Regions from separate parts of the Homo sapiens genome. Here regions 1, 2, 3 and 4 are each linked to region 5. The links are contacts of gene promoters, found by promoter capture Hi-C in blood cells and fetal thymus (Javierre and others, 2016). All regions are on one chromosome and are shown on one strand. Each heading gives the region's core, a stretch centred on a gene start or on the middle of the fragment in contact. The rest is flanking DNA. Distances are from core to core; before and after follow the strand shown. Region 1 has its middle 350 kb from the start of MGC4859. Region 2 has its middle 55 kb from the start of COXFA4. Region 3 has its middle 32 kb from the start of COXFA4. Region 4 overlaps MGC4859 (a long non-coding RNA gene). Region 5 holds the start of NXPH1 (neurexophilin 1).

Region 1 (4,312 bases), core at 1,566-4,065, 2.0 Mb after region 5:
TTTTGTTAATCATAACAAAGGTTGGCATCTACTATGCAACCTGTTGGTTTTTCTAAACTAAAATTGTATAAATATATAATTGTTTATCATGTACATTATGGTATTAATTTTCTAATATCGTTTGGGAAGAAGGTATTCACCAGAAGTAAGCAAGTATACATGTGTTTTGTCTTTATTTTAAAAAAATAAATATTTTAGCCATATTAGAAAGTATGTAGAGTAAGAAACATCCATATACTCATTATAGGTAGAATTGAAAGCTTTCTGTTCAATTTCCAAACTCTGTTAGATGTCATCGAAATTCTGATCTTGGCATTTAGATTCCCATAGACGTTTCTTATAGTTGTACCAATAATTATGTATTTGAAAACTATATAAAAATTTTCTACATTTGAAAATGTACATAAGTAATATTATATATGTGTGTATACTGAATATATGTGTGTATATATGTGTATACACACACGTGCACACACACATACCTTCTGAAACTTGCTTTTTTGACTCAAAATTACATATTTGCAATTTACCAGGGCTGATATAAGTAGTTGTAGTCCATTCATCTGCTATACACTATTCCATCAGATTTATCCATTCTCTAACTGATGAAAATTTATATTGATTCCAAATTTTCATACTACAACAGCTCTCTCAAGCAATCCTTGTTTGTGTCTCTTTGTCCACAAGTGTAATAATTTTTCTAAAATAAACCTAGAAATAAAATTGCTGATGCTGAGGGTATAAACATTTTCGACACTGTGGAATTGCCCTCTGAAGAAGATGTATTGATTTATCACCTGTCACCAGCATTGTATGAGACTTTCCATTTTATCATATTCTTAACATATGGCATTGTCAGACTTTTAAATGATTGCCATCCTGGTGACTTTTAAATATTTGTCATGGTATTTCATTTGTGCTTATATTAGTTTTTTTATTTTGCCATAACAAATGACCACAGCACAGCACAAATCAATAACAGCATAACTTTATTATTTCCCACTTATGGAAGCCAGAAGTCCAAAATGGGTCTAAAGTCAAGAGGCTACAGGGCTGCATTCCTTCCAGGGCTTCCAGAAGAGCAGCTGCCTCATTCCCTGGCTCATGGTCCCTTTTTCTATCTTTAAAACCAGTGCTGTGACATCTTAAAATTTAATGACTCGGATTTTTTTTTTTTTTTTTTTCCTTGAGACAGATTTTCACTCTTGTTACCCAGGCTGGAGTGCAGTGGTGCGATCTCGACTCACTGCAACCTCCACCTCCTGGGTTCAAGTGATTCTCCTGCCTCAGCCTCCCGAATAGCTGGGATTACAGGCATGCGCCACCAAGCCCGGTTAATTTTGCATTTTTAGTAGAGACAGCGTTTCTCTAAGTTAGTTAGGTTGGTCTCGAACTCCTGACCTCAGGTGATCCACCCACCTCGGCCTCCTTCCATGAGCCACTGCACCCGGCCCAGTAGGTCGATGACCGTACCATACGCTATATAATCTCCCCATCTCAAAGCCAATTAATTAGCAATCTAATTCTATTTGCAACTTTAATTCACAGTTTCTGGGGACATCTTTGGGGGTGATAATTTTGATGGCCATAATGTTTAACATTGTACTATCCTGCCTACAATTGAAGATATTTTTATAATATTTATTGACTTGATCTGGATTTCATGTCTGTTAATTCCCATTTTTTTCATTGAATTTTTGCTTTTTTATAAAATTTGCCAAAATTCTTTGTATTTTTAAGCTTTCAACCCTTGGTAAATTATATGTATTTAAAATAACATCTCCAAGGCTGTGACTTGTCTTTTTCTTTTAGTGCCTTTAATTCAGAAGTGATGTTGTTTGTAAAGCTGTTTTTGTTTTAATATAGTCAAATTTATCACTTTCTAGTTTGTAGTTTTGGTGGTTCAAGGAATTCTTCCCTACCTTGAAGTTATCTTTATTGTTTTAAGATGTTATATAGAATGCAAATACTTTTTTCTACTAATTCTATTTACAATAATATTTACTGTGACATTTGAAGATGTTACAGTACTGGTTTTGATGGAAATTCAAATGGGAATTCAGAGACATGAAATCCAAATAAAGTCAATATTCTAAATTTTCTTGAATTTTCTAGGTGGGTAATTATATGATCTGCAGGTAAAGAGAGTTTTTGTTTCTTCCTTTCCAATTCTTGTATTTATTTTGCTTTCTTACTGTGCTGGATGAAATTTCAAATACAATATGAAATAAAAGTAGTAGTAGCAGGCATTTAAAATTGCATCTTGACTTTGAAATAATTATTCTAAAATTTTATTATTAAGTATACTACTTCCTATAAGTTTTTGGAAGAGACCTTTTACAAATTTAAATAAACTTCCTCCAATTCTATTTTGATAAAAGTTTATCATTAAAAGGTGTTTTACTTTATTAAATTATATTTCTCTATTTAGTGATCAACTGGTTTTTCTATTGCAAAGTAATTTTAAAGGTAATGTAGATTAATGATTTTTTCACTATATCAGTATAATTATATTTTAGCTCACATCTAGTACACTTTTAAGCACGAAATAGTAAAGAAACATATACATATATAGCTATTGAACAAAATCCTTCTAAAACATATTCTACATTCCTCTGCCTTGTAAAATAAAATATGCTAAAAGATATGAAAGTGTTTCATAATTATTCAGGGTAATTAGAAAATATATAATAAGCAATTCTAGAAACAGCCAATATTTTTCTTTCTTCCTCTTTCCCCATGTTTGAATCTCATATCATCAGTCTACAACACCTTCTAACTGCCTCTTGAAGTCCTCTACCAACCCCCAGGTCACTCCATCTCATTCCTTGAAGATTTTAGTTTCCTAGTTTATTGTCACTCCCTTCAACATAACAGCTATCATAGCTCCTGGAGTAGTAATCACATATGTGATGCTTTTCCTACCAAGCACCCTTAGTTCCTTGACCTCTCCTTACTTACTTCAGCAAAGCCCTTGATCTTGTTATTAGCGAATGCTGGAGCCTTGTCCTACTCTCCATTTTGTAAGTTCTCCACTCTCCATCAATAATCTTTCGCTATTCCAACTGTCCTCTTCTTGTACTGTAACTTCTACAATTTTTGAATCCAAATTAAGACGCAATCAATTCATCCCATAACCATTATATTGTTCTTCTCACCCTCATGTCTTACTTGCCTTCCTTGAATTCTCTCAGGAATTACCATTTGCTTGCACACACTCTCAATTCCCCTACTCGTTTTGTTTATTTTCTTTCTTTTTTGAGACAGAGTCTGGCTCTGTCGCCCAGCCTGGAGTGCAGTGGCGCAATCTCGGCTCACTGCAAGCTCCGCCTGCCGGGTTCACGCCATTCTTCTGCCTCAGCCTCACGAGTAGCTGGGACTACAGGCGCCCGCCACCGCGCCCGGCTAATTTTTTTATATTTTTAGTAGAGACGGGATTTCACTGTGTTAGCCGGGATGGTCTCGATCTCCTGACCTCGTGATCCGCCTGCCTCGGCCTCCCAAAGTGCTGGGATTACAGGCGTGAGCCACCACACCCAGACTCGTTTTGTTTACTTTCTTCTTCTTGCTTCAATCATGATGGAATCCCTCTCTTTGCCCATTTCATACATGTCCCGGCAGATAAAAATTTCAGGAAATACACATACACACACTCACTCACTCTCTCAGGCTGGTCTAACATTAAATTCATAAGCACTAACCTCAAGTGAGACTTTAATACTACCCAGTTCTCATCTCTACTACATTTCTCCTGTCTAGCCATTCCTCTACTTTGATAAACAACTATTTTATGTTATCTAAACTTTTCTCAAACTTCCAATATTTTCTTTTTCACTCTTGCTCTTCAACTGATGACCTTGCTTTGTATTTATTTTTCTGAAAAAGAAAATAAAGCTTCCAAAATTCCTACTATCCCATTAGCCAACCAATTGCATCTGTCTCATATTCCCTGCCTTTTCGCCTGCTCCCATTAATGGAATATCATTGCTCTTCCTAAGAACAATACACCTACTCCTCCATTAGATCTTATTACCTCCCACTTGATCAAAAATACAACCCAAAAAACTCTCTATTCCCTCTGCCTAATCATTTTTTTCCTTTTTACTGAATTTTCTCCCTCAGTATAAAATATAACACTTCTTTCATTAATGAGATAAACAACCCTTCTTTTCCCTACAGGTACTGCCCCATTACTTTCCATTCCTCTAAAACAGGGGTGTCCAATCTTTTGGCTTCTCTGGGTTATATTGGAAGAAGAATTGTCTTGGGCCACACATAAAATACACTAACACCAACAATAGCTGATGAGTTA
Region 2 (4,764 bases), core at 410-2,909, 2.5 Mb after region 5:
CCTGGTCAAACGAATCCCCTGGGCCCTATGCAAATATCAGACACCACCTCCTCTAGCCTCCTCATATAACTGGCTGTTTCCACCCCACCCCCTCAGGGTTTCCTCTCTTGGCTTGGAGACCTCTCCCTCTGTCTCTGTAGTGGGGAGCTTCTTCCTTCTTTCTTGCCTATTAAACTCTCCATACCTTAAAACCACTCCACTTGTGTCCGTGTCATTTTATTTAAATTGGCACAAGACCAAGGATCCTGGTGTTCCTCCAGTCATTGGAGCCATATCACATATACAACCAGGAATACTATGCAGCCATAAAAAGAATGAGGTCATGTCCTTTGTAGGGACATGGATGGAGCTGCAAGCCATTATCCTCAGCAAATTAACGCAGGAACAGAAAACCAAATACCACATGTTCTCACTCATAAGTGGGGGCTCAATGATGAGAACACTTGTAGGGGAACGACACACACTGGGGCCTGTTGGAAGATGGGGGCTTGGTGGAGGGAGAGCATCAAGAAGAATAGCTAATGGATGCTAGACTTATTACCTATGTGATGGGACGATCAGTGCAGCAAACCACCATGGCACGTGTTTACCTATGTAACAAACCTGCACATCCTGCACATGTATTCCTGAACTTAAAAGTTGTGAAAAAAAAAATTTTAAAGGAAAGCTACTGTTTTTGTACATTGATTTTGTATCCTGAAACTGTACTGAAGTTGTTTATCAGATCTAGGATCCTTCGGGTAGAGAATATGAGGTTTTTCCAGCTATAGACTTAACTCATCTGTGAAGAGAGATAGTTTGATTTCCTCTCTTCCCATCTGGGTTCCTTTTATTTATCTCTCTTGCCTGATTGCTCTGGCTAGGACCTCCAGTACTATGTTGAATAGAAGTGGTGAGAGTAGGCAATCTTGTCTTGTTCTGGTTCTCAAGGGAAATGCTTCCAACTTTTGCCTATTCAGTAGGACATTGGCTGTGGGCTTGTCATAAATGGCTTTTATTTTAAGGTATATTTCTTCAGTGCCTAGTTTGTTGAGGGTTTTTAACATGAAAGGATGTTGAATTTTATCAAAAGCCTTTTTCTGAATCTATTGAGATGATTATGTGATTTTTGTTTGTTGTTCTGTTTATGTCATAAATCAGATTTAATGATTTGTGTATGCTGAACCAGACTTGCATCTCAGGAATAAAGCCTACTTGATCATAGCAGACTAGCTTTTTTGATGTACTGCTGGATTCAGTTTGCTAGTATTCTGTTGAGGACTTTTGTATCTATGCTCATCAGGGATATTGGCTTGAAATTTTTTTCTTTGTGTCTCTGCCAGGTTTTGTATTAGAATTATGCTGACCTATGTAATGAGTTAGGAAGGAGTCCTTCCTCCTCGATTTTTTGGGAATAGTATCAGCAGGAATGGTATCAGCTATTCTTTACATGTCTAGTAGAATTCAGCTGTGCATTCATCTATTAAAACATTTTCAACTTTCGTTTATTTTCAGTTCCTCAGGAACCTCATACTTAAGAAATGAGCATCTCAGGGGGAACAGGTAATTTGCTTTTGGGCCAGACTTTGCCACTGACCAACTATGCAAGTATGAGCTGCACAATTCTATAAAACCCTACAATGCTCTCTTTCCTAAAGAGGTCTAAGTGTTTTCTAGTCAAAATTATTTGATGTTGTTTTAAAAGGTGATCTCTAAATATTCTCTGGATGCAAACTTAAAATACAATGAATATTTCATGGACTATTGAAGTATTTTTAATTGTTTATCATTAAAAAACATAAAATTGAAATTTCATTTTATTCTAGTGATGATTGCAATATTAAAAGCAAAGTCTAACAGAGATGATTCCACTGCTAAGTCAGTGCTGGAAGCAGGTATAAAAATATGACACTTTCTTTTTTTTCTTTTTTTTTTTTTCTTTGACACAGGGTCCCACTTTGACACCCAGGCTGGAGTGCAGTGGTGTGATCACAGCTCACCGCAGCCTCCACCACCCTGGGCTCAAGTGCTCCTCCCACCTCAGCCTCCCAAGTAGCTGGGACTACAGGTATGCACCACCACGCCCAGCTAATTTTTGTATTTTTTGTAGAGATGAGGTTTCACCATGTTGCCCAGGCTGGACTCAAACTCCTAGGCTCAAGTGATTCTCCTGCCTCAGCCTCATAAAGTTGCGGGATTACAGGCATGAACCCAGCCAAAATAAGGCCCCTTCTTTTTTTTTTTTTTTTGTTTTTTTTTTTTTTTTAGATGGAGTTTCACTCTTGTTGCCCAGGCTGGAGTGCAGTGGCACGATCTCAGCTCACTCACTGCAACCTCCAACTCCTGGGTTCAAGCGATTCTCCTGCCTCAGCCTCCCAAGTAGCTGGGATTACAGGAGCCTGCCACCATGCCTGGCAAATTTTTTTTCTTTTTTTTTATTATTATTATTATACTTTAAGTTTTAGGGTACATGTGCACAATGTGCAGGTTAGTTACATATGTATACATGTACCATGCTGGTGTGCTGCACCCACTAACTCATCATCTAGCATTAAGTATATCTCCCAGTGCTATCCCTCCCCCCTCCCCCCACCCCACAACAGTCCCCAGAGTGTGATGTTCCCCTTCCTGTGTCCATGTGTTCTCATTGTTCAATTCCCACCTAGGAGTGAGAATATGCGGTGTTTGGTTTTTTGTTCTTGTGATAGTTTACTGAGAATGATGATTTCCAATTTCATCCATGTCCCTACAAAGGACATGAACTCATCATTTTTTATGGCTGCATAGAATTCCATGGTGTATATGTGCCACATTTTCTTAATCCAGTCTATCATTGTTGGACATTTGGTTTGGTTCCAAGTCTTTGCTATTGTGAATAGTGCCGCAATAAACATACGTGTGCATGTGTCTTTATAGCAGCATGATTTATAGTCCCTTGGGTATATACCCAGTAATGGGATGGCTGGGTCAAATGGTATTTCTAGTTCTAGATCCCTGAGGAGTCGCCACACTGACTTCCACAATGGTTGAACTAGTTTACAGTCCCACCAACAGTGTAAAAGTGTTCCTATTTCTCCACATCCTCTCCAGCACCTGTTGTTTCCTTACTTTTTAATGATTGCCATTCTAACTGGTGTGAGATGGTATCTCATTGTGGTTTTGATTTGCATTTCTCTGATGGCCTGGCTAATTTTTGTATTTTTAGTAGAGATGGGGTTTCACCATGTTGGCCAAGCTGGTCTTGAACTCCTGACCTCAGGTGATCCTCCCACCTCAGCTTCCCAAAGTGCTGGGATTACAGGTGTGAGCCACTATGCCCAGCCTTTTTTTTTTTTAATGGAGATGGGGTTTTACCATGTTGGCCAGGCTGGTCTCAAACTCCTGACCTCAGGTGATCCACCCACCTTAGCCTCCCAAAATGCTGGAATTACAGGCGTGAGCCACCGTGGCCAGCCAAAGCCCTTTCAAATAACATTGGTAAAGACTTGGCTTTTCTTAGAATACAAATTCTGCATACAAAATTATGAATAAGAAAACATTTCTTTCTCTATCATTCTATCATCCCTCCACCAGCCTCATCTTTCTTTAATTTCAACTTCAAGCTCCTGGTACATTCATAATAACTGTCATTGGCATACCTTGTCCCTTGGGTATTCTGAGTTCCATCATCCTTCATCTAACCACTCCTCCAAATTTTCTTTCTTACTTCTAATCCCTACTCTCTGCTAGTTAACTCAGTTAGAATAACTCATATGAACTTGGTTATGCTGATAATAAATCATTGTGTTAACCCTCCAAGATGACATGTTCATACATTTTGATCTGAAAAAAAAAAAAAAAAAAAAAAAAACCAGAACCTTATTTGAGCCAGGTTCTATGGCACACACCTGAAGACCCTGAACCAGGAGGATGACTTGAGCCCAGGAGTTGGAGGCCGTAGTGTGCAATGATCATGCTTGTGAATAGCCACTGCCACTGCCCTCAAGCCTGAACAACTGAGCAAGACCCCATCTCTTAAAATTAAAAAATATATATATATATATATATATTGCTACAGACCTTCCAGGAATCACGGCAGGATAGCAGAGGTGGCAAGAGATAGTTTTGGCTGTGTATACGCAGGAAGAGAAGAAGAATCAGAGTTGTCTCTGTGAGTAGGAGAAGTAGGTAACGTATACTTGGGTATTTCAGGAGTACTCAAAATGGGTTTCCTCCCTCAACTCTAAAAATGTTATACATGTGTAACATGTTTATGGGCTTGGGCAGGGAGAACTGTGACTGTAATCAGCAAACACACACACACACACACACACACACACACAATGTTGCTATTTGACTCCTACAGAATTGGAAATTAATGATTTTCTATTTTGCAAGTAAATTAGCATCTAGTAAAGTTTAAGTGATGAAATAACAGTCACACAGGCACACTGCTAAAACAAAATAACCTCTTGTTTCTTATTCTTGAAGGATTCCAGAAAGAAAACAACAGTAAGACAGATTATCATACCTATTTTCCAGGAAATATACAGAATTTAGTTCTGTGAATCTGGTACCTGAAATGTCTCCTAAACTTAGATTATTTTCAGTTTAAGTGTCATCTAAGAAAAAACAAACTAAAAAACCAACCAACCCAAATTTCTAGATTCTCCTCTTGAGAGAAGTATGAACTTAACTTCAGTCATTACCATCAGCTGTAATGATTAATCCTAAAGAAGAAAGAATACTCAGAATTGCAGATAGAACATTGGACTTGAATCAGTGTGACATTAAACAAGTGATTAA
Region 3 (4,358 bases), core at 193-2,692, 2.5 Mb after region 5:
GACATAAAGGTAAATGCAATAGAGTTAAGAGTCTAGAAATTAGCCTATACATCAGTGAATTCACCAATTTTTGACAAAGATGGCAAGTCTCTCCAGTAGGGGAAGAAGAGGCTTTTCAACAAATGGTTCTGAGATAACTGGACAGCCACATGCAAAAGAATGAAGCTGGACCCTTCGTATTGTGAGGTATAACATTTCATGTGCTACTTTGACAAGTTTAAGCTTCATAGACAAGTTTAAGTTCCAAAGTTCTAACAACGGGACCCCTCGCTCTTATTACGTTCTCCCAACTAACAGCAAAGGCTTCCCACCTGGCTAGTTCCCCTATCAGCTGTACCTGCTACACCCCAGCTAGCCCTCAACCTAGTAAGTTTTACTTTCCTGCCACTCCATGAAATTCAAACAAGCCAATCACATCCTCTCATGGGTACCAAGAATTACCTCATCTTTTCATTACTACAAAACCTAACCTCCATGCCCCTGCTTGTTCTTTCTTGTGCAACCCTGATGGTGATTAAAATGTTCTAAAGTTGGCTGTAGTGATAATTGCACATATCTGTGAATATGTGAAACACCGCTGAATTGCACATTTTAAGTAGGTGAAGTATACGCTATAAGAATCATTTCCCAATAAAGCTATCTAAAATTATATATGGGCTACTATCAAGAACAGTATTGCAGTAGATTCAAGAAGATTAACACAAATGCACAGATGACTAATCCATAATAGATTATCCAGAAAAGTTAGCAAATTTGGTTTTAGTCCTTGCTTGAAAAAAATTGCTTCCCTAGAAAATATTTATTGGTGGCAGTATTCAAAGAAGACAGAGCTGAATGATCTAGTGGCCTAAATAAATATGGCACTGTTTTTATATGATAAAAAGAAAAAAAGAGATAGTTTTCAGAATTTAAGCTCCGAATTAATGAGCCTGCTCATTTTATCAAAATTTTTCTTGGTTCTTCAAGAGACAAACTATCATCTCTCTTCTGACTTTAACCGTTATTCCACTTCTGATATTACTAGCCTCTTTATAAAACGTAAGCAGAGCTCCCTGAAACAATGCCATCTTTAATCTTGGAGGTGGCACACTGGGACCTGGATCTACCAGGGCACCACCTGTCACCTCTGGCAGAAAGCAGCCTTCTCTAGGGCTCCTCAGAGGGCAGCCCAATTGATGCCCACAAGAAGTGATGAGTAACATCTGCTGTCTCCTGTTCTGTCTTAAAATGATAAGAGTAGACAAGGGTGTGTTTTATCATCTGGATGTCCACAAAATCAATGTCAGCATGCAGCCACTGCCCATTACACACAATGAGCCAGGAAGCTGTTGAAGAAGCTTCTGTTCCACACAGCCAAGTTATAACAGCCCACACTCCAGAAAGCTGGGGGTGAGGAAGTCAGACAGGCAGAGCTGGAGGCTGCATCCCGAAAATCTGTCATTATAAATAATTAATATTCATGGCTAATTTACCCTTTTGGTAGCCACCAAGCTAACTATAGGATGATTCCTCTAACAATGCACATGCATTTAAATGCTTGGTCTGAAAAAGCTTAATTATATGTGAAATCACCTGATGGAAAAAAAAAAATTCTAACATTACATTTGTCCATGGAAAGAAAGGAAAAGCTGCTTTTTAAAAAGTTTTTGAAACTGATTTCAACTCTTCTAAAATTGAATTGTCCTATAAAATTTGTTTTAATTTTTTTATTACATACTTATGTGAATAACATTTCTTATCAATAATGACTGTTGAGAATTTAAAGGTATTATCATTTAGAAGTCTTGATAAGGAATTGCATATGGTCATCCTAGGGAAGTAATAATGCTGGCATTAAAAATGGTATGCAGCCAGGCGCAGTGACTCACACCTGTAATCCCAGCACTTTGGGAGGCCAAGGTGGGTGGATCACCTGAGGTCAGGAGTTTGAGAACAGGCTTGCCAACATACTGAACCCCCCCATCCTACTAAAAATACAAAAATTAGCCAGGCATGGTGGCACGTACCTGTAGTCCCAGCTACTTGGGCAGCTGAGGCAGGAGAATCGCTTGAACTCAGGATGCGGAGGTTGCAGTGAGCCGAGATCGCACCACTGTACCCCAGCCTGGGTGAGAGAGCAAGACTCTGCCTCAACAACAACAACAGCAACAATTAAGTATGCTTATGAAAAGAAACTCAGGTTTTTTTCATTAAAACATTTTAGGCCGGGCGTGGTGGCTCACACCTGTAATCCCAGCAATTTGGGAGGCCAAGGCAGGCGGATCACCTGAGGTCAGGAGTTTGAGACCAGCCTGACCAACATGAAGAAACCCCATCTCTACTAAAAATACAAAAATTAGCCGGGCATGGTGGTGCATGCCTGTAATCCCAGCTACTCGGGAGGCTGAGGCAGGAGAATCGCTTGAACCCGGGAGGCGGAGGTTGCGGTTAGCCGAGATCGCTCCATTGCATTCCAGCCTGGGCAACAAGAGCAAAACTCTGCCTCAAAAAAAAATTAAGATTTTATTTAGGATAGTATGCAAATTCAATAGTTAATATTAATACAGGAGTTATTAAGAAATTATTTTTAGGCAGCTAGAGAAGGTTAAACTTCTCCGCGCAATTTTCCTTTAATAAAAAGCAACCCCAAACCATTTCTTCTCTAATAGAAAGCGGCCTGAGAAGTCAGGCATAGATATGCAAACTGGAAGCTTTTATATGTAAATGCAGGCAGCTGTACCTGGAAGCCAGGTACATTCAATGTGGCATCTCCTGCCCTCTTTTTCTTATCACCACGTGTGCCAGCTGTCATGGCAGCCTCCAGATGACACCACGTGTACAGGCATCATGGCGACCAGCCACGTGGAGGCCAAGTTTACATAATAAAAGACTAGGGTGGGAGGGCCAGTCTTTTCGTGGGATGTGTAAATGGCACACCTGGTAAAACCAGTCCCCTGGCCCCATGTAAATCAATCACCGCCTCCTCAAGCCTCTTTACAAAACCAACTGCATTCCGCTGCAAACGGAAGACCCTCAGGCTACCGACTTTCTCAATATGAGAAAGCTTTTTCTCTCTCTTTTCTTTTTCTATTAAACTTTCTGCTCCTGAACCCACTCCTCATGTGTGTCAGTGTCCTGAATTATTTCTCAACCACGACCAAGAGCCAGGATATATACCCCCAGACAATGGAGCCCTTTCAATATCTTACATAATATTTGCTATATTATAGTATATATTCCTAAAAAATAATTTAAAAAAATTTTCCCATCACATCCCATATAGATGCCTCCAGATGCCACAAAAACTATCATATCTATGTCCTTTTCCTGCCATGACATGAAAAAAGTTAGGAAAGCATTAGTTTAAATCTAATGGCCAACCATTTCAATTATGTCTGTTTCCTATCACTACCCCCACGCTCCCAAACAGTCTTGTCTTTGTCTATCACTCCAATTCCCAATCCTGTTTACCCTGGCATTTTTACAAATTCCCATTCCCAGGATGCCCTGCCTTGCTTGGGACTGTAATACAACTACAATAAATTGATACACAGTCCTTCCATTTCTTATTACCTAAAATTAGTTGGGGATGCATCCTGCCTTTGTAAGACAAGTAAAATCATCTATTATGGACTGAATTGTGTCCCTGCAAAATTCATATGTTGAACCCCTGAACTCCAATATGACTATGTTTCTCAATTCCTCAATATATTGCCTTTAGGGAGGTAATTATGGTTAAGTGAGGTCATAAGGGTGGAGCCCTAATCTGTTAGGATTGGTGTCTTTATAAGAAGAGGAAGAGACACCAGAGATATCTCTATCTCCCTTTCTCTTTCTCTCTCTCTCCACATGCACAAAATGAATGTCCTGTGAGGACACAAGGAGAAGGCGGCAGTCTGCAAGCCAGGAAAGAGGTCTCCCCAAAGGAAGCAAGTTTGCTGACACCTTGATATTGGACTTCTAGCCTCTATAACTGTGAGGGGGGAAAAATCATGCTGTTTAAGCCTGTGGTTTTCTGTTACAGCTGCCCTAGGTGACAAATACACCATCCTGAAGGAACTCCACACTTAGTCACCTGCTACATATTTTGCTGCATCTGATTACATCTTATAATCTTTACATGCATCTTAGAAAAAGAAGCTCCTTAAATATATATATATATGTATGTAAAATGGGATCTTGCTAAGTCACCAGGGCTGTGCTGGCCTTCAACTCCTGGCCTTAAGTCATCCTCTCACCTTGGCCTCCCAAAGTGCTGGGATTACAGGTATGAGCTACCACCGGCCCAACAACAGCCTCTTATCTCCAAAATAAATCCGTTTGTCTGTAGCCTTCCTACCACCTCTTCCCATTTAAAGTCCTCTCTGTTTCTCTTTCCC
Region 4 (4,543 bases), core at 964-3,463, 2.3 Mb after region 5:
TCCTTACGCAGGCCTGTCCCTCATGCCTCAATCTCTGGCAAACTAGGGGACAAGGATTTGAAAGTGGTGCTCGGAACAAAAGGATCTTTCAGACAGTTGAATAGAGCAGGCTGGTGAAAGACACGGTTGGGTAACCAACATGAGCACCCAGAGAAACAAACCATCTGAAAAGAGGACTCTTGCTAATTTCTTTCTTTCCATGGTGATTTTTTCTTTATTTTCTCTTCTCTGTTATTCCCCATTCACATTACCCAAGCTCGTGTAACTGATAAGTTGATAGCATTGTACAACCAGCACAGTTTTAAAGTGCTTTGTGTATATTAACTCATTTAATACAACAATCCAATGAGATAGGTTCTAGCACCATCCCTGTTTTATAAAAGAGAAAACTAAAGCATAGAAAAAAAAATTAAAATCTTCCCCAAAGTCATACAGCGAGTAAATTACATAGCCAGGATTTGAACGTAAGAATTTTAACTCCAAGGTCCATGTTTCTCATCACTATACAACAACACCTCTAATGTTAGCACCAAGTCATGTGACTTCCATAACCTTATCCACACCAGAAGAATAATATACAAAGACATAGCCACCTACATAGAGATTTGGTACATTTTTGGTCAGTGTTTATTCCCTAAAATTGAAACTATTATGCCCATTTTTTAATGTATTCTTGCTCTTCTCATTTGAAAACATTTCCAAGTTAACTGCCAAAGATCCAATCTATACTTTTTAATGAAAAACAATATTCTATTGTAAGGATGTAACAATCTATTTGTGCATTATTCTATTCACGGGCATTCACTTTGTCTCCAGTTTGTTCCCACCACAAATATTCCAGCAATAAACTTCTTTTACATAAATCTTATGCACTCAATGCTTTTATTTCTATGGGCTCAATTCCCAGGAATAAGTTTGCTGATTAAAGGGTATGTTTATCTCTATATTTAGTAGACCGTTCCAGACTGCATTCTGAGTCACATTTCAACAGCAATATGTAAGAACCCCCTGTCTCCTCAACCCCATCAGAGTAGATGTAATTGCTCTTTTTAAATGGCACAATCTGATGGGTATAAAGTGATATCTCACTGCTACTTTAAGTTGCATTTTCTAAGTAGTGAACTTCAGATTCTTGAAAAATGTGATTAGCCGTTTGGATTTGTTCTATCAATTACAGAGTTAAATCTTTTTGTACATTTTAAATAGAGTTGTTTTTGTTTATTATTCAGGGCTCTGCTTATTATTTAAGGGTTCTGTTTATTTTAAAGATTAGTCCCTTTTTCTGTCATTTGCATTTAATTTTTTCCAAAAATCTATATTTTCTATTTAATTTTGCGATGAAAATTTATTTATACAATAGATATTAATTCATAAATACCTGAATGTATGTCTCTTTTCTTTTATAGATTCTGAGTCCTATATTTGATAGGAGCTCTCCATCCCTAACCTTTACATGAAGTAACCTATATTTCCTTCTAAGATTTTCAGTGTTTAAATTTACATTTTATTCTATCTGAAGTCTGCATATATGATGTAAGGCATGCTTCTAAACTTATTTCCTTCCAAATGAATAGACAATTGTGCCAAGATTCTTTGTTAAATAAACCATTATTTTCCTATTGAATTGAATCTCTATCATATATTAAGTTCTCATATTTACTGGGATATATTTCTGGACACTAGTATGCTTCATTAATCCATTTTTATTTTTCTATGCCAAATACCACTGGAATTACTAATTATTTGAAGACTACACGAGAAGGGAAAGGAAATAAGCAGCAATCTGGACCAACCAGTAAAACTAATAATAAACAGGAAAAAAAGAGAAAACAGTAGCATAAATAATAAAAGCAGATAGAAGTACACCTGAAAATCAGACAGAGGTATAGCTATTGCAGGACTAAATGCTACCATTTTCTGTCTTTCAAGCTTTGCTGCCGTTGTCCCCAACATTGCTACCACAAGCTATCAAATCACCTGGAGAACGACACTAAAATAATAAATTATCTTATATCATCACTAGAAGGGAATGTTTTCAAAAGAACATGGCTTCCTGCTTTACATAAATATCAAGGCTAATTTTTTGTATTTTTTAAAAACCAGTGCCACAGTAAAGCAAAAACTTGTTTTGCTTAAATGGAAGATACTAAATCAATGTCATTATTTCTATAATATGCCCCAAAGTTTTTATAGTTAGCATTAAGAATATTAATAGGCAACTATGAACTAAGTGGTAGCTGCTAAGATTTTGGGATGACATTATTTAATCTGAGGAATATTGGTAGGTGAAAATTAAATAAATGACAGCTGCTCAGGGTACCATTTTGGCCTTGCTAACTTCTCAGCAGCTTTAACAAAGAGATGGGTAAATTTCAACCAATCAGAAAATGGTTTAACCATTGAAACACGTTGTTTCTCTTGCTGTTTTTGTTCCCTGTAGAAGAGCTTACATTCTACAACTGGCCATCTTTTTGGATGTGTGAAATAGTGCAGTAAATGAAGCTTTTTGCTTTCTCCTTATGGATTTGAGATGCTTTTGTCATTACCATTACGTTGCTATTATTTTAGCAGTGTTATCTTGGGTACTGTACATTGTTTAAGGTAAAGTTATATGAACAACAATGAAAATAATACCTATAGAATTCAGGTATATTTGGTTCACCTGTATTCACCCTCCTTAAACAAGAAAATAATAAGCATCTTGGCAATGTTGGCTTTATTCAAGTAAAACTTTTCCTTCAGTAAGCTCAGTTTCTAAAGTATATATACCCTTTGTTAAGTAAAACGGTTCATTAACAATATGGAGAAAAGTAGAATAATGGGCATTCCGGTCATTTCTTGGCATCTAGTCCTGATTTCAGTTGGAGATTAAATTGCCTGATGTCCTCACTTTAATAATTGCTATGGCTGATTTTTACGAGGCTATCATGAAGAAACCTTCAAGTTTTCAAAGGAATGTCATTTAAAAGACAGGAAATTAGATGCTGATATGCCTAAGTAACTGCTAATAATTAATTAAAGTGAGTTTCAATTAGTGAGTTATTTAATATCCCACCCCCTTCCTAAAAATGTTAATAAGGTGGTAGTCAATAGGCATTATTGGGGCATTGTGGTACTAATATATACACAAGTAATGATCAACATTACATGCTTCTTAGTCGATGTTTACTTAAAAAAAAAATCAAAAGCATCTACTTCATGCAGAGGAGGTGCTACACTTCTATCACCCTAATGGTGTGAAAATGTAATGATGTTTTCCTACAAAGGAAAACCTCTTTTCTTTGATGTTTGAGCTTGGCTTCCATTACCACAGCTTCCGATAGCTGAGAAGAAAACATACATTACCCACACTATCAAAGATGTCACTGTGCTGCTGAGAAGCATATACTTAATTGTGGGATTTTAAATGATGTGTCTGCTTTTGATTTTCACGGTGACAACTCTTTACTAAAAAAAATATAAGTAGTGCTACCTAAAAACAGAAGATGCAATGTCTTCTTACTTCATAGAGGTATATACAGAAAAAGAATGATAAATCACTGTACTCTGTCATCTTTGTGATTTTATTTCATTCTGGGACATTCAATTTAACATAAACTTCTCAAAACTGCATAAGAATGAAACCCCCATTATACTGAGAAATACAAATTAAAATAGAATCTAAATGATTAGGCACTAAATGCATAAGATATTCTAGTAGATGTTACACTTTTTCAATCCAATTAGAAGGTGGTACTGCAAATTATTAATAAATGCTAGTCTATGAAAATCACTCTGTCTTAAACATACACACAGTCATTCAAACACAAATAGATGGTGGCTTAAAAAGAGGATAACTTAACTTGCAAAGTTGTTGCAAGGATTAAATTAGATAACACACTGCAAAGCACCTAGTTCATTATTAGGTAAATAATAGATTGCATTATTTATAAATTTCAGAGATAAGGACAAATATAAAGTGAAGAACTTGGAGTTTATAATATTTCATGGAAGACAGGAAAAAAAAGGAGAGGGGCAAAGAAATAGGGTGAGAAATATAATGAGTTAGAGAAAGAGCTCCATGTGGGAGAAGAGGACAAGAAGACTGGGTAGGGGCAGTGAATAATCTACTCCAATGGAAGCCCCATTTGAGCTCTTTCGACCAGAAACTTTTGCATCTGAGAGGTCCTATTGTTTGTACCAGTGATGCCTAGCAAACTTTTCTGACACTGCCCAAAACAGAACTCCTTGTCAAAGAAGTTGTATAAGCTTTCACAGAAGCAACACAGAAAATGGGTTGATATATTCAGCACTTCAGTGCATATTCTGATACCAGGCATCCTAAATGAATTCTAGCTATAGATAAGAGTCAGTGGTTCTGCAGGTCGGCTGTCTATGCATCATCTACATGCTATGCCTCACATGTCATAATGCACATGTGTTATGTCGTAGGTTCAGTTCTGTTCAATAAATGTACTAATTTAACTTTGTGATGAGGAGGTCTGCCTTGTGTTTTAGTTATTTCCTGAAGTCTGGACAAGGGCGGGAAATATACCACACTTGT
Region 5 (4,403 bases), core at 1,032-3,531:
GTTATCATTCATACTAAGTTTATATCTGTATTAAGTTGCATTGCACACAAAGTTTGGAAACAGTATTTCTGAAAGAATTTTCAGCATGAGTAAAGTCAGTAAAAATTGGTACAAACACTATACTTCTTAAGGTAATCACACTTTTGTTCTCACTCAATGAAGCTGACTGTTCATGTATTCTAAGAGTGCATTTTAGAGTAGGATACTACTTGAAACAGAAGAATGTAAGAAAATCATGCTTTTATTGCTCCATTGTTCTTTATAAAGCAAATGATAGGAAAAAAGGAGGGTGAATGAACCATTCTTGTCCACTTCTCCCCCAATATTATATTATTAAAACTGGAGTGGTTTAGCAGAAACGATACATTTTTCTGTGTTACTTGGTGGCTCGGTATCCTTTTCTGGTTGAGTATTATAGGAGATGAAGACCCCTGTGAAATATGAAAAATGACAATCCGCCACTGTTTTATATCACAGGCCAAGTATCTCATAGGATCCAGCGAAGGTTGAATGTCTGGGCAGAAGATCTCAGGTCATTAACAGAAAAAGCTCTTTGGCATCCTGTGTCATAGAACAAAGTGTCAAACCTGTTCCCATTACTAGGTGCCTGTGGTGCTTTTCTTAAATAATCAGTCCCATTCAGACAGACATTTTAAGGTCTCTGATCATCTTTCTATTTCACAAGCAGTATTTTTTTAAGGCTAAATGGCACTAGAAGCAGAATGTTTTTAAAGTAAGGTTTAGAAAAGAACTTGGTATATTCCAAAGCTAGCCGGATTCTTTCTCATTTTCCCAAAGGTCAGACAGAAGTTCAGCTCTGACAGCATTGTAGCTGGGAATCCAGATAGAGGCAGGCAACATTTGCTCCAGCTCTACACTCCAGTCTGGGAGGCCTGGGAGCTCCTGTACAAATAGGAATCAATTTTAGGATAGCCTTATGAATCCTAGAGGATGGAATTAGACAAAGCTTTTTTTGCCCCTGCTTTGACCATTTGGCCTCAGATACGGGTGCCCCAATACTTTAATTTTTCTTCTTTAAAGTTTAAAGTTTTTAAGAAAATGAAATAGCTGGTAAGTGAAAATAGTCAAGAAAACATTGTAATTATGCTATATGTACATGTGCGTTTTTTCTGAAGTGGATTTTCAGAGACACAGTTAGAAGGTGTGCTTCACTGCTTTATTCTGCATATGCCCCAATGAATTCCAGGAGGTCACAGCAGCAGAGTACAACTTTTAAGATTAGAAGAGCTTGCTCTTTAAAGAGTTATTTTTAGCTGGAAGGGAGAGTGTAGACCTCAAAGTGCTGGTAGGTATGTTCTACAGTGGGGATCTAATTTGGAGGTCTTTGGAGATCTGATTCCAGGGGAAGGTCTCAGTGGGGCTCCTCTTGCCTCTGCTGCAGGACTGGGTGGCTCTGCTGATTGTCACTGCCTTGTTTGAGGGGTGGTCTCCATCATCCAGGGGAATTCAGCCTGGGACCTATTGTCTAGAGTGTACATTGTATCTAGGCCCAGACCTGCCAGAGTGTCCACAGCCACACTTGAGGAAAGGACATTCCAGACTCATTAAATATCACAATTCGATTTTGATGTCACTAACTCAGGTTCCTGAGATAAATTTCCATACAATTCCTACAGATTGATATGGATATGTGCATCACCCCAGGAGAGGCTCTGGTGAAGGGCAGGCTTGGAGATGCAATGGGCAAGGTTGGGGAAGAGATACCCTCTTCCGGGTTCCGATTTGTGCCCTGAATTTGGGCAAGCTCAAGGAGCACTGGCAACCCCACCAGCACCAGAAGAAGCTGGTCCTGGCTGTCTCCCGAGACTGGTGAAACTGCTCTGGTGGTGGTGCACTGGAAGGGTGGAGGAAAAAAAACAAAAAACAAAACAGGGTTTGAGGGGGAATGGCAGGGACACGGTAGAGGCACAGAGATACAGAGACCTAGAGTCAGAAATCCTGAGTGAGACACACAGAAAGGCAGAAAAAGGCAGAAAGATGCTGAGGGACAGAGACGCAGACCACAAGAATGACAGAAGAAGGAGACAGAGAGAGAGAGGGAGTGAGAAAGATACTGAGAAATAGGGACAGTAAGGGAGAGACTGAGAAAGACAGAGACAGCCAGAGTCGGAGCACAGAGGCCGAGTCTGGGAGACGCTGGTTGAGTGGGAGGTGTCAGTAGCGAGGGAGGTGGTGACGGCTCGAAGCATCCCCCGTCCTCCTCCTCCCCCTTCACGCTCAGCCCAGCCGGCGGCGAGGAGTCCAGAGGCCAAGGTCGCCCAGTCCTCTCGGCTGTCTCGAGCTGAATGGCTGGCAGTCTGCGGCTCCCCCGCCTCCGGCCCGGCAGCCACAGGTCGGAGGCGCCCGGCGTCGGCGCTCGAGGCCGGCAGGGGCGCCCTGCACCCTCCCGCGCCCTTCCCCGCCCTACGCGACTCCCGGCTGCTCTTCCCGCCACTCCCCTGGGCTTTGCGATCTTCCCTACGCCCCCCGGGAAGGGGGCGCTGCGGCCACCGAAGACACCGCGGGAGCCACTTGTCCCTGTGGGCCCAGCCCGCGAGAGCCTGAGAGCCGGATCTGTTTACACAGGGTACTAATTAGTCTTTGAGGAATCATTCACCCACGTGCCAAAGTAATTGTCCGTGTCAGGAAGGTAGGCGTGCCAAGCCGCGGCTCTGCGGAGAAACCACGACCACCGCGGCCGCCGGAAACCCAAAGCGCTCCAGAGCGTCCCCGGGTGGCCGGGCAGCACCAGGGACAGCGCCCGGGACTCCACTGGGGACCGGCTCCTGGGCTTCCCAGCGTCGCGGGTAGAGGTACAGCTGCTCCGTGTGCCGCAGGCTCCAGATTCTCGCCACCCCACCCCTCCCTCAGAAACTCGGACTGCTCTCGTCTGCCGTGTGGTTCTCTTTTCTTCCGAAAGGCCAGTGTCTTATCTCTCCACTTCAAGTCCAGAGGACTTGCTCAGTCTCCTCCCCTTAAGTCATTTCCACCATCCTCAGGCAGCTGTGGGAAGCCGAGAGTCCTGGACTGTTCGTCCGGGTGCCAGCGCTGGCAGTCCCAGTCCGTCCGGTGCAGCAGCCCGGCGCATTCCCCTCTCTCCCTCCCTCTTGCTCTCCCTCCCTTTCTGTCTTCCTCTCTTTCCTCCTCTACTGCTCCCTCCCTCTCTTGCCTCTTAAGTTTCCTGCACCGTGAATCCAACTGTGCCAAGCCTTGGCTCCCGCGAACCAATCCTGAGCGCGACCCGGGCACTGGGACGGCGACTCCGCCAAAGCTGGACGAGGCAGCCGGACCCGTCTGCGCTCGAGCATGGAGACGGAGCGCCTGGGAGGGCACGTCCGGGGCGCTGGAGACGCCAGGCCCGAGTAGCTTCTCCATGGAGCCTGCCCAGAGCGGTCCCTTCTCGCAGGATTCGCCCCAAGTCCTGTGCGGTACGTACCCTTTGCCTCCGCTGTTCCCGGAGGGTACACCTGGGAGCGGGGTGGTGGGCACGAGGAAGGGACGGCAGGGAGGGGCGCTGGTTAGGAAAGAGAACAAGCCTGGCAGGTGACCCTCACAGCTCGGAGGAGGCTTCTTCTCTAGAAGTTAGCGACCGGCTGTACCCTTTGGCTCGAAAAAAGTAGTGCTAGAGATGTGACTGTGAGCATTCGTGGGTATCTCTGTGTGCGCCAGGGGTTCGAATGGGTAAACTGATCCCTGCTTTCCTGTATGCAAATTGCATTCTCTTTCCCCACCCCCACTTCACCGAACGTGTTGAGGTACCTAGCACCTAATCGCGGTCAGTTCTACCTACCTCTTCCTCTCACCGCGCCCCCCTCGCTCAATCTCTCTCTCTCCCTTTATCTTTCCCCTCTATCTCTCTCTGCTGGTGTGTACGTGTGTGAGCACTGCCAGGGCTGGCGAAGAACCAGCCGCCGCCTTTAGTCCGAGCCGCCGGGCCACCCAACACAAGGGCAGGTCTCGCTGCCGGAGAAGCCTGGGCTCCGAACCAGCCTGCACGCGGCTCAGTGTGCTCCGCCGCCTGGGAACTCGCACCCGAGGAGCGCAGGGGGCAAGGAGCCCCTCACCCTCCCTCTCGTCCGCCCGCCCGCCTCCCCAGCTGCGGACCGCGCGCTTGCTGGTCTCAGGCGCTGGATTTACTCGCTTTTCAATTTTTCGTACCCTCCCTCCCTTTTTTTTTTGGTCCCCCACTCCCCGCTACGACCCCCTTTCCCCGCTTGATTGTCAAGCCTAACCTTGCCCGCGTAGTCATGGGATGTCTAATTTTATTTGCATCTAGGCTGCTGAGAGCGCTCCTTGCTCTGTAAAGTGGATGTCAGGTGGATCTATGTTTCTGAAGGAACAAAGACTCAAAGAAGGCACCGCCAAGGAAGTTTGAGACGCGGGAGAATGCAGGCTGCGTGCTG

What was found. Contacts are between HindIII fragments. The CHiCAGO score rates a contact against its expected background, and 5 or more counts as called.
Region 1: a contact is called between a fragment that was not itself captured here and the fragment with the promoter of NXPH1 in region 5, in 2 of 17 cell types (endothelial precursors and M2 macrophages). The highest score is 8.1, in endothelial precursors.
Region 2: a fragment that was not itself captured here is called in contact with the fragment with the promoter of NXPH1 in region 5 in 14 of 17 cell types (naive CD8 T cells, total CD8 T cells, non-activated CD4 T cells and 11 more); the score reaches 22.1 in naive CD8 T cells.
Region 3: a fragment that was not itself captured here is called in contact with the fragment with the promoter of NXPH1 in region 5 in 9 of 17 cell types (endothelial precursors, naive CD4 T cells, total B cells and 6 more); the score reaches 15.7 in endothelial precursors.
Region 4: a fragment that was not itself captured here is called in contact with the fragment with the promoter of NXPH1 in region 5 in 1 of 17 cell types (total B cells); the score reaches 6.5 in total B cells.

What each region holds. Positions count from the first base shown.
Region 1 is chr7:10,431,050-10,435,361 of GRCh38, forward strand. No RefSeq gene overlaps it. Among named protein-coding and RNA genes, the nearest start is that of MGC4859, 350 kb to the right of the region's middle. The HindIII fragment of the contact is 2,154 bases long and covers 1,739-3,892 here.
Region 2 is chr7:10,882,392-10,887,155 of GRCh38, forward strand. No RefSeq gene overlaps it. Among named protein-coding and RNA genes, the nearest start is that of COXFA4, 55 kb to the right of the region's middle. The HindIII fragment of the contact is 8,498 bases long and covers 1-4,764 here.
Region 3 is chr7:10,905,883-10,910,240 of GRCh38, forward strand. No RefSeq gene overlaps it. Among named protein-coding and RNA genes, the nearest start is that of COXFA4, 32 kb to the right of the region's middle. RefSeq lists an enhancer at 3,283-3,815. The HindIII fragment of the contact is 214 bases long and covers 1,336-1,549 here.
Region 4 is chr7:10,770,310-10,774,852 of GRCh38, forward strand. All of the region lies in intron 1 of MGC4859 (a long non-coding RNA gene), which reads right to left. Among named protein-coding and RNA genes, the nearest start is that of MGC4859, 7.4 kb to the right of the region's middle. The HindIII fragment of the contact is 573 bases long and covers 1,928-2,500 here.
Region 5 is chr7:8,431,328-8,435,730 of GRCh38, forward strand. It overlaps NXPH1 (neurexophilin 1), which reads left to right and starts at 2,282. Exons shown (of 3, transcript NM_152745.3): 1 at 2,282-3,428; 2 at 4,277-4,403. The coding sequence starts at 4,387. RefSeq lists enhancers at 2,846-3,393, 3,394-3,941, 3,942-4,403. The HindIII fragment of the contact is 6,580 bases long and covers 966-4,403 here.